Linked DNA regions of Homo sapiens: all the other regions are linked to region 2. The links are contacts of gene promoters, found by promoter capture Hi-C in human tissues and cell types (Jung and others, 2019). All regions are on one chromosome and are shown on one strand. Each heading gives the region's core, a stretch centred on a gene start or on the middle of the fragment in contact. The rest is flanking DNA. Distances are from core to core; before and after follow the strand shown. Region 1 overlaps TENM4 (teneurin transmembrane protein 4). Region 2 holds the start of TENM4 (teneurin transmembrane protein 4). Region 3 overlaps TENM4 (teneurin transmembrane protein 4).

Region 1 (3,746 bases), core at 1,029-3,528, 370 kb after region 2:
AAAATTCACAAGACACCCCCACCCCCCAGACACTCCCACCCACACTCCCACTTTGCAGCACAGGCAAGCACTTGGACAGACCCACCCTCCCAGCTGTCAAGGCCCCACCCTGGACACTGAGATCTGATGTTGGCAGCATTTATCACAGCTCTTGCTCTGTTGTCTCTCTAATTGGATAGTGAAGCAGGGGAATGTCTTGTGTACCCATGCTGCTCTGAAAGATGGAGCAACAGAAAGCCAGAACTGAGCAGGTTGTGTTTCATAAAAACTAAGTGATGCCCTATGTCTCTGCGGAGGATATTCTGCTTTCCTTCTGTATTGAGCTCCTGGCCCTGTATGGTTGTGTTTGCTACCCCAGAGCTCAAAGAAGACATTTGGAGGGAGAAAGAGGGTGCTATCACAACTCAAAAATCCAGGGGTGTCAGTGTAGGGCAGAAGGGTCAAGATGGGGAAAAGAGGAGAAAGGGCTATTAGGAGCTTCCCACCAGTCAGACCTTCTAGCAACACCCAGATGGATGGGGCAGACACTGTGCTGCCCAGTGCTGACGGTGGCACTGAGGAGATGGGCAAGTCTGGAGGTGAGGGACATTCTCTGAGTAACTGGAAGGGCACTTTTGTGTACTAAGAGTAGGAGGGAGACGTCTCAGGGAGGCAGAATGGAATAGGAAAAATGCAGGCTTTAGAGCCAAACAGATCAGAGTTCCAATCCTGGCTTTTTTACTTGACACCTAAGTGACCTTGAAGGGGGTTCCGAGTCTCAGTTTTCTCATCTGTCAGATGGGGATGGTTAGCTGGTTAATTAAACACATCTTTATTATGCGCCTACTGTGTACCAGCCCTTGTTCGAGGTGCTAGAGACCAGGAGTGAGCAGTACAGGTAAAGTTTCTGCTCTCATAGAGCTTACAGACTAGCAGAAGGAGATGGGCAAAAAGCAAATAATTATATAATCATCTGGTAGTGGTAAGTGTGGGTTGGTTGTTTATACCTTAGCTCGTTTCCAAAAGAGGTTGGAGAGAGTAATAACATCTCAGAAGATATCAAGATTTACTAAGATAATATATGCAAAGTGCTTACCCCAGTGTTTGCATGCAATCATTCATCTCACAGATTTTTAAGGAGCCCTGGGCCAGAGCTGGGTCAGGCCCTGCTCCATGTGGGATGTGATGGGAACCAAACAGGCTTGGTTCCTACCTAGGAATATTACTAACCACCAGTGCCCTTTGGCCTTTGCTGTCAGCTTCCTCGGTGCCCATCACTGGAGGAGGCCTCCTCAAGGTGAATAGGCTAAGTAGCAAAAAGGGCCAGGATTTGTAATTAGAGGTCCTGGGTGCGACTTTCCTTTGCCACTTATGGGCTGCGTAGTGGTGGAGCGGTACCCTCTCCTCCACTGCCTGGGGTTCTCTGTCCACAGGGCTGCAAGGGTGAATCCAGGACCAGGATGAACCCGGGAATGTTCTCTGCCTCTCACGCCCTATCTTTGGTTTCCCTGGCTCTAGACCACTCGGCCCTGAGTGCGGCGAGGACCCTGTTTGTGGATGTGGAGGAGCGCGGGCCGGAGGCCATGGACGTGAAGGAGAGGAAGCCTTACCGCTCGCTGACCCGGCGCCGCGACGCCGAGCGCCGCTACACCAGCTCGTCCGCGGACAGCGAGGAGGGCAAAGCCCCGCAGAAATCGTACAGCTCCAGCGAGACCCTGAAGGCCTACGACCAGGACGCCCGCCTAGCCTATGGCAGCCGCGTCAAGGACATTGTGCCGCAGGAGGCCGAGGAATTCTGCCGCACAGGTAAGGACAAGGCCGAGGGGGCGGGCCTCAGGCGCAGGTGAGCTTGGCTCAGGTAGGCATGGGCTCGGGTGGGCGTGGCGCAGGTGGGCGTGGCACAGGTGAGCTGGAACACCAGTTGGGGTGCCATATCAACAGCAAGTTTCTGCCATTTGGGCACTTGGACCTGGTAAAAAGCCTGCCCTGTAGTTCATTCTTAGTTCATTTATTTTCTCGCTCACCCACTTCCCTGGCATAGTGAGGTGGTTAGGAGCTGGGCTCCAGTGTTTGTCTACCTGCCTAGAGTTGAGTTAGGCTCCCCTCTAAGCCTCAGTCCTCAACTGTTACATGGCCGTGAGAAGCCTCCCTAGTGCACTGAATTGTCCTGAGGACTTAATGAGATGGCCTTTAAGTGGTAAGCCTGATAATACCAAGTAAGCGCTGAATAAATGTTAGTTCCTAGTTTTGCTGTTCATTCAACAAACATATTTAGCAGTTTCTTTGTGTCAAGCCCTGTGTGACCTTGAGAGGAAGACCTTCCCGAGATGGTTAGACATGAAAACTTAGTAATTTGTAGGATATTCTGGTGCCTGGCTCCCTCTCCTGCACTTTCTACCTACAGTAGTCCCCAAAGCCTATCCATCCTGCCCCAGTATTCAAATCCATTCTTCTTAGCCATTCCCTCTGATACTTCCCAGTGCAAACCATTATCATTTTTCTTGGAGGATTAACCACAACCACCCCCCTTCACCCAGAGCTGCCCGCCTCTAGCCATTCTCTGTACTGCAGCCAGATGAAGCTTGGGGGTGACTCCCTGTTGCCCTTAAACTGAGCTCCCCCTAGCATAGAACTCTTTCCCCAAATCTGTTTCTGTTTTTCTAGACTTTTTTTGTCCCCTAACTCTCCACACTCCACCACTCATGGGCCAGCCCTGCTGAACTGCTCAAGTTTCCAGACCTGCCATGATATTTCTTTCCTACCCTGGTGCCTCGGTGATTCCTGTTTTTCTGCCTGCAGAGGCTTGAGCCCTCTTTGATGCCTGTTGGGTCATGACCAATGCCTGACAATTTGTGCAGCCCACCCTGATTTGCTCTGCCCTTCTCCCCCTTCACAGACAGGGTCAGCTGAGCACTGTGCTATGTAATGTATATGCATTTTGACAGTGTTATTTAATTCTCATAACAACCCCAGGGTGAATCATTTGCCCAAGATCACAGAGGTAAGAGGAGCTGGCCACACACACACACAGAGCACACCTATGACCTCTTCATTTCCATTCTCTCCCACAGGCCTGTATCCATGTGAAAGCTGACCTGTTCTGCCTGTGAGGCTTGAAAAATGAGCAGTCCCTTTCCCAGCTTATGGTTAAGGCTCCAACTCTGGCATCAAACAGACCTAGATTTGAACTGTGGCTCTGCCATTTTTAGTATTCTCAGCTACTTTACCTGTGCAAAGGGATAAACAGTACCTAATAGGTGGTGAGGATTGATGAGAACTATAAATGAAACACTTGACACCAGTACCTGGCACAGAACAGATGCTTCAGAAATGCTGCCTGTTATTCATTGTCATCTCTGGATCTCACTGAAGAGAAGAGACAAAATGGTCTCTGAAAGCTTTTCTTTTGCTCCGTCCTGTCCGTAAGTGACAGAGCTCAGTGAGCCCCGGTTGGCTTGGACCTAGCACATGAGGCTCAGGGAAGGGGCGGCTCCTTGTCTTTGTAAATAACAAATAAGCATTCTCATCTCATAGGCAGGCATGTGCGTAGCAGTTTACAAAATACTCTCCTTCAAATTATCACCCTGGATCCTCAAAAATCCTTTGAAGGTAGCAGGTCATAGATTATCATCCCATTTTAAAGACAAGAACATTGAAGCTCAGGTGATCACAAGCCCAAGATTGCACAGCTAGATGTTGAGTGAGATGGGATGTCAACTCATGCCCCGGGCCTCAGAAAAGAGGCCAAAAAGGACATAAAGCAAGTA
Region 2 (3,434 bases), core at 1-2,500:
CCACGTTTATAATCTGTGATGCCTTTATAATCAGCATATGGCAACTGGCTAGACAGTCTCCTCACCACACAGAAGAGTTTTCAAAATAGCCTACCCCTCCTTTCACATTTATGTGAAATTAGCATTGTCACATTTCCTCCTTCATTGACTACTTTAGATCAGAGAGACACACTGTAGCAGAAGATCATGAAGGAAGTTGTCTTAAAGAAGGAAACTAACATAAATTAAGCATCTCATATACACCCAGTGCTTTCTTTCCATTGTTCTCTCTTTTAATCCTCACCAAAACTGGTGAAGTCGGTATCATCCATTTTATAGATGAGAAAACTGAAGCCGGGTAAGGGGAAATGGCTCGCACTAAGTCCTTTAGCCAGCAGGCAGCAGGGCTGGAGTGGGAATTCCTCCAGTCTCTTCCCCAAAGCCCTTCCAAGTTGCCACTCAGTCAAACTACCGCTCTCATCACATAAAAATGCCCTTCTCTTGGAAATGTGCTTGCCATCACGATCCAAACATTCGAGGGACAGAAATCTCTTGGACCGCAATCACTGCTATTTTTTAAGTGATTGTTATCACGACTCAGTAGCTGTTACCATGGTTTTGGGGAAGTTGTCCGAGGAAGGAGGGCCTTTCTTTGGGCATCTTGCATGCCTGAAGAAGGAACTCAAGATCTCAGCTCTTAATTACTCTGATTGTGCTGCAGTAGCAACTTGAAAGAGACCGTCCCTAGAAAAGTGTTGGGGTGGGGGGTGTGGAGTAACATCCAGCGAGCAGGCAGAAGGGAGGCCCTGGGCGCCAGAGAGACCCAGGGAAAGGCGAAGAGGAGGGAGAGGGGACGAGACCGTGCTACGGGGAGCCTGGAGAGAAAGCCAAAGGAGGAGGAAAGAACAAAAGGCAAGAGGAGAGGAAGTACAAGAAAGTCCAGAAAGGAAAAGAGAAAGTTTCAGAAAGGGGAAGAGAAAGCAAGCAAGGAGGGTAAAAGAAGAAAGAGACCAGAAAGATACCGAACTGAGAGAGCTCGGAGAACTCGAGAAAGCAAAGGAGGTAAAAGGAGAGAAGATGGAGAAGGCGGCGGAGAGGAAGGGGGAAGGAGACAGAGGAACCGAGACTGGGGTGAGGGAGCGGCCGCGCGTGGCCCCCGGAGAGGCGCCCATCACCTGCGTGGCGCCCCCCCGCGCCGGAGTGCGGCCCTGCTCCCAGCGCCAGTGCGCCGCGCGGCTCGCCGGCCTCGTAGGATTGGCTACCGCCTCCCATTCATGTAACCTGCGTGTGCGTGTGCGTGTGTGTGTGTGTCTCTCTCTCGCTCGCCCTCTCTTTCTGTGTGTAAGAGAGCGAGGGTGGGGGACGGAGGCAGGCAGGCGAGCAGGCAGGGAGGGGAAGAAGAGAAGGGAAGCTATTAAACACACACACACACACACACACTCACACACGCGCGCGCACACACCCGCCCCAACCCCCCAGAAGCCTCGGGATTGCAGCTGTTTCATGTGGGGCAGCAGTGCTGGCAGGGACGCCGGCCGGGAGCGGCCGGGAGCGGGAGCCGGTCGTGCGCGCGCGGCTGGAGGCTCGCTGGGGCTCCGCTCCCCGCGGGAGCTATTGTTGGTCTCGCTGGAGCTGAGCGCAGAGCCCGGACCTGCTCCTTCCTGGGCGCCCCGCTACGGCTCGCGGAGCAGAGGAGCCGCGCCGCCGAGAGAGAGAGGAGCCACCGGCGCGGCGCCTTGCCTCCCTGCCGCCGTCCTCGCCGCTTCCCCGGCGGTAGCAGCCTGCAGCCACGGTAAGGCGGCGTGATCCGCTCTACGGAAAAGCGCCTTGGGGACCGCGGCGACGCCTCGCCAGCTCCATCGCCCTCTGCACTGCTGGCCCGGGCAGGGTTCGGGTAGCTCACGCGGCTGCCGAGGGCTCCGGGAGATGTTTGCTTGCTCCCCTGGCCCAGGAGGAGGGAGGCTAGGGCGCGGGTGGCCGAAGAGGCAAGCTGTTCTGGAGCCTGGAGCCGCCGCAGCCCCCGGAGCCCGCCGCGGACTGGAGCCTGGGAGCAAGGGTTGGGGGAGGGCAGGGAGGTGGGAAGCGGGTGGGAGGGAGGCGGCGCGCCCCAGGTTCGTCTGCCTCTCCCGGATCCCGTTCCCCGCCCCGGCCCGGTCGCCTGCAGCCCCTCTGCAGACTAGCTCGCCCCAGGCCCCCGTCGGGCGCTGGAGGAGCCCGCGAGGCGGCGCCGGGCTTCAGCGGCTGCAGCCTGCCCTGCGGGGCAAGTGCCGGCTGCAGCAGCCCCGCACGGGCGGTGGTTGGAGCTCAGATCCTGGAGATGCGACCCCAGCTCCTCGCCCTCTGCAACCCGCGGGGCGCCCGCCTCTCCTCACCGGGCGCCCGGCCGCGGTATTGATGTTCGTCTAGGAGCCAACTGAGGCTGCAGCCGCCAGATGGACGCTTGGAGGGCTCCCGGGTGTGAGTGTGACTGTATGACTACTCTCACCCCCAGCTTCGGGAAATGTGCTCTGGGTTGAAATGTGATCACCGAGCTCCTCAGTCATTTTAATTGCCATTTTTAAATGCGGTCGTTACATTGGAGGAGCAGACTGGAAGGTAGTGGGGCGGCGTGTGTGTGTGTGTGTGTGTGTGTGTGTGGACACACACACGCAACCGAGGAATACACAACCAACTACTTGGGTGAAGGGCGGGGGGTTCACCTAGTGAGTCCTTCTTGGCGGGGGGGTCGGGCGAGTTAGCTGCCCGCTGCCCGCCCCTTCTCTGCCTGCCCCCGCCTAGGCGAGGTTGGAAAGTACTGGAAATTCAGCTGCGTGGTCCTTAACTTTGGAAATTGGCTCCGCTTTCAGGGCAAAATGTTAAGGCGATTTATGCACCCGCGTCCATGTGGATGAGTGTATTACTGCTCAGTTGGGTGCAGAGCCCTCAACAGTACCGCGCCAAGCCCCCACCCGATCTCTAACTCCCTCCCACCCCCTAACCGTGGAGAGAGGGTTTATAGAAATGCAGTTATCTGTAAACCATCGACGCAGTGAAAGGGGCGCAGGGAGGCAGCCAGAGTTTTGCCTGAACCTGCATACTGGCTTGGTGTTTGTAGCACACGAGATCACCCCGCTGCTTTGTAGAAGGCGGTGGTGGGGCAAGCTCGGGATTCCAATCGCCGGGGTGGGGGGTGGGGGGAAGAGGGTGCCCATGTACTGAGCTCTGAGGCCGAGTAAGGAGAGAGATCTGCTGAGCGGCATCGCGGGCAATTACATAAGCTGCCTCGGTGATTACCCGGAACTGTGATGCGAGCTCCCGGTTCTCGAAAGACAAGCCTGAAAGTTTGCCTGCTTGGGGAGTGTAAGTACCGGGGCGCCCCCACCCCGGCCTGGGTAGCTAGGATACGCCTCGCACCACGGCGCCCACTTGTGCGATGGGCGTCGGGTGCTGATGCTGCTGTCCCCAAAGAACCGGTT
Region 3 (3,349 bases), core at 353-2,852, 330 kb after region 2:
AGCTTGGAATGTTCATTAAATGCAATAACGTGTGAAAATGCCAGGTGCAAAGAAGCTATCCCATAAATGCGTGTGGCATCAAGGGCATTAGACACATCCATGCCTCAGTGAAGTGACTATGATCTTACTCCTGGGCATCATTGATGAGCGGAGTGATCTGAGACCACTGGGAAGGTTCTTTGAGGAAAGTCATTATCTTTTTTAGCCATTCTCATCATGGACACAAGGTCAAACCCTGCTGAATCAGGGAACATTGACCCTCTGTGATTGAGACACTGTTGGAAAGGCTTTCCCAAAGCTAGTGATATCCTAGCTGAGTCTTGAAGGATAAGACTGGAAGTCAGACAAGGAAGGAAAATATTTCCAGGTGAGGGGAATGGGATGTGCCACAGAGGTGGGTGGAGAGATGGGGAAGGAGAATTTTGGAAACTTGGGGAGGTACCATTAAGTTTCCAAAGAAACTCACAGAGGGGATCGTCTGTTTGTATTTTTTCCTATTAATGCCACTATGATTATGATTATGATTATGATTAGTATTCTCAAGTAATGTGCAGTCTTGTATACAGTAAAAATAAATTCATTATTCCTTGTGAGAAGCAGCATGCCATAGTGATTATGATATGGACCCTGTAGCCATGCTGCCTGGATTCAGATCCCAGCTCTGCCCATTTACTAGAAATAGAACCGTGAGCAAGTTAACCTCTCTGTGCCACCTGTTCCTCATCCATAAAATGGGGATGATAGAAAGAGTAACTTCCTCCTAGGATTGTACTGATGATGAAGCAAGCTCATGTTTGTGAAGGCCTTAGAACAGTTCCGGGCAGGTGCAGAGTAAGTGCTGCATACTTATTTGATAAATAAGAAAGTATATTCTAGACAATTACTCTTTGGTCAAATAGTTATTGTTTTCCTTTCACTAACCCATCAAAATATTCATGCTGTTCTTCATCTCTAATCTACTTACATTATAGCTCACTTGGCAGCTGCCATGAAGAGGTAAAGTTACCAACAGGCTGTTGTAGAAAAAGCAGAAGATGCGGGTCAGCAGATGAGTTCTTGTCCCATCTCTGCCATTGCCCTGCACTGTGATCTTGGACAAGTTGCCATTCCTTTCTGAACCTCGGTTTTCCCATCTGTAAAGTGGGAGAGTTGAGCCAGCTGACATCAAAGAGCACATCCAACCCTAAGCCCTGAGTGTTGGTGACTTGCTCAGTGGCTTCCCTTCAGGGACAGGCAAGAGGACCGACGTCTGTCAAGCACCTACTATGTGGCAGGCACTGCTTAGCTCTTTCCTCACATGCTTCTTCCTGTAGTCCTCCCAGCAACACAACAGGAAGATAGCATATCTTTGCATTACACTTGGAGACACTGAAGCCCTGAGAGGTTAAGCAGCCAGCTGGTCACTCTGCTGGTAGGGGGAACACAAGGACCCCAGCCTGGGACTGCCTGTCCCTAAGCAGCCTTTTTCCACTAGGCTGGGCTTCCTCCCAGAGGGTATTCTGCAAAGGTGTGATCCATGAATAAAAGCATCATTACCCAGCTATGCTGGGGAGATTCCTGCCCTCCTTCCCTCATCTAGGTAGCTATGCTCTGGCGCTAGACTTGAGTTAGGATCCTGCCTTTGCCACTTCTTCACTCTGTGACTTGGAGCAAATAATGTTACTTTCTGGGCTTCAGTTTCCTGGTCTATAAAAAGGAGATAATGATTTCCACTTCATATGATTATCTTGAGGCTTGAAGAGAGCATGTGTGAGACATTAGCGTGGTGACTAGAATCTAGGTAATTTGTTAAAAATAATATAACTTCTTGTTTGTGGTTGTATGAATCAGTGGTTCTGATTTTAAGATTTCATGGAAAAGCAAAATGTCAAAATAAAAGTTTCCAACATTTTGTTTTACTTAGGTAAGCCTTTAGAACATAATTAGCATCTCCTAGCACCATTAATTCATAATACTAAGTAGAGTTCACCCGGCATAAGCTGGTTCTCTCAACCAGCCAGCAACACTGTTACCTTGCTCTTGCAAACTGCTGCTCAGAGTCAGCCCTTTAGTCATCTGGTTTAGGGCAATAGCTGCCAAATTGAAGTTTGGGGACTTCTTTACTTCAAACCATGGGGCTGAAACCAGCTTGGGGAAGGGGGAAAGACATAGGCACTGACCAGCCTGCCTCATTTGGCAGGCCCCTACCAGCTCCACCTTTCCCTGACCTGAGCCTCATCTGCAAAGTGAGCCCTTGTTTTCTCAGCCAACCTTCCCAGCATCAGGAGCAACAAAGGTGGAACTTATATTATAGCTTGTGATGTGCTGTTTTTATATGAAGGATCAGCATCACTCTGCTATCTGACCTCAATGAAGGCAGGCAGGGCAGAGCTGGGAGGGCTGGGGAGAATTGGATTTGAATTATGTGAACTCTAGAGGATGAGAAGTCAGTGTTTCCACACATCCTTTGTTCCTGTGTTTCCAAACTGTAGTTCTTCACCCAGTGTCAGACTGGATTTGCTTGAGCACACAGGTGATGGGAAGTTGTTGTATTTAATAGATTTCAGCTCAACTAGAATTGCAAGGAAGCAATAACAGAAAAGGGAATTCCAAATGAAGCCAAATTATATTCATTTGTTTTACAACAACTATTAAATATGTTGAGAGGGTGAAAATAATGATTTCACCCTTTCGAACTGAAATTGGGGTTCGTTGGTGGCTCACACCTGTGCTATATTGAGTTGTGGGTTTGGTCAGGTGTGATTATAGAACTTAATTGTAAATTGCATCTTTCTGGCACATGCATGAATGTATTTATGTATTCTAAAACCTTTTAAAATCATTTTTGTAAAAATAATGTCTATGACTAAAACCTCTAATGGCTAAGTCACTAGCTCCAAGCAGCCGTTCAGTTGAGGCTTAGAAACTTCACAAGGGTGCTGGACAGTATTTGCCCAAGGGATGGAGATGAGCCCACCTCCTATCTCCTTCTCAACCCCCTTGGAGCCTTGTAAAGTGCTTTGTGTACAGTAGGATCGCTCACCTGTGAAATGGCCCCATTCTCACTACTTAGCCAAAGCCTAGTAATATCACATACTCTTTGACCCACTAATAACGTTTTAATGGAAATAAGCAGAACATCATGCAAAGGCATTTGCAGCAAGATGCTCATTGGCAGCATTGCTTATCATAATGGGAAGACCTGGAGCAACCTAAGTGTCCACCTGCAGGGTCCGGTTAAATCAATGAGGGTTACTCCATATGGGGAAATAGCATGCCTCCTTTAAAACCAGTGAGGCCCAGCTGTGATATGGATGTGAAAGATACTCATGGTATAGTAAGTGAGGTGGGGAAGCAGATTAGAAAGCAG

The links. Contacts are between HindIII fragments. The study calls those that stand out against the background at their distance.
Region 1: a contact is called between a fragment that was not itself captured here and the fragment with the promoter of TENM4 in region 2, in 1 of the 25 tissues and cell types used here (IMR-90 fibroblasts).
Region 3: a contact is called between a fragment that was not itself captured here and the fragment with the promoter of TENM4 in region 2, in 1 of the 25 tissues and cell types used here (IMR-90 fibroblasts).

The regions. Positions count from the first base shown.
Region 1 is chr11:79,067,761-79,071,506 of GRCh38, reverse strand. TENM4 (teneurin transmembrane protein 4) reads left to right here. Exons shown (of 34, transcript NM_001098816.3): 5 at 1,498-1,785. The coding sequence starts at 1,563. Among named protein-coding and RNA genes, the nearest start is that of TENM4-AS1, 24 kb to the left of the region's middle. RefSeq lists an enhancer at 1,202-1,758. The HindIII fragment of the contact is 6,519 bases long and covers 1-3,746 here.
Region 2 is chr11:79,438,846-79,442,279 of GRCh38, reverse strand. TENM4 (teneurin transmembrane protein 4) reads left to right here and starts at 1,250. Exons shown (of 34, transcript NM_001098816.3): 1 at 1,250-1,771. RefSeq lists silencers at 1,122-1,291, 1,552-1,661. The HindIII fragment of the contact is 13,466 bases long and covers 1-3,434 here.
Region 3 is chr11:79,104,466-79,107,814 of GRCh38, reverse strand. All of the region lies in intron 4 of TENM4 (teneurin transmembrane protein 4), which reads left to right. Among named protein-coding and RNA genes, the nearest start is that of TENM4-AS1, 13 kb to the right of the region's middle. The HindIII fragment of the contact is 5,008 bases long and covers 1-3,349 here.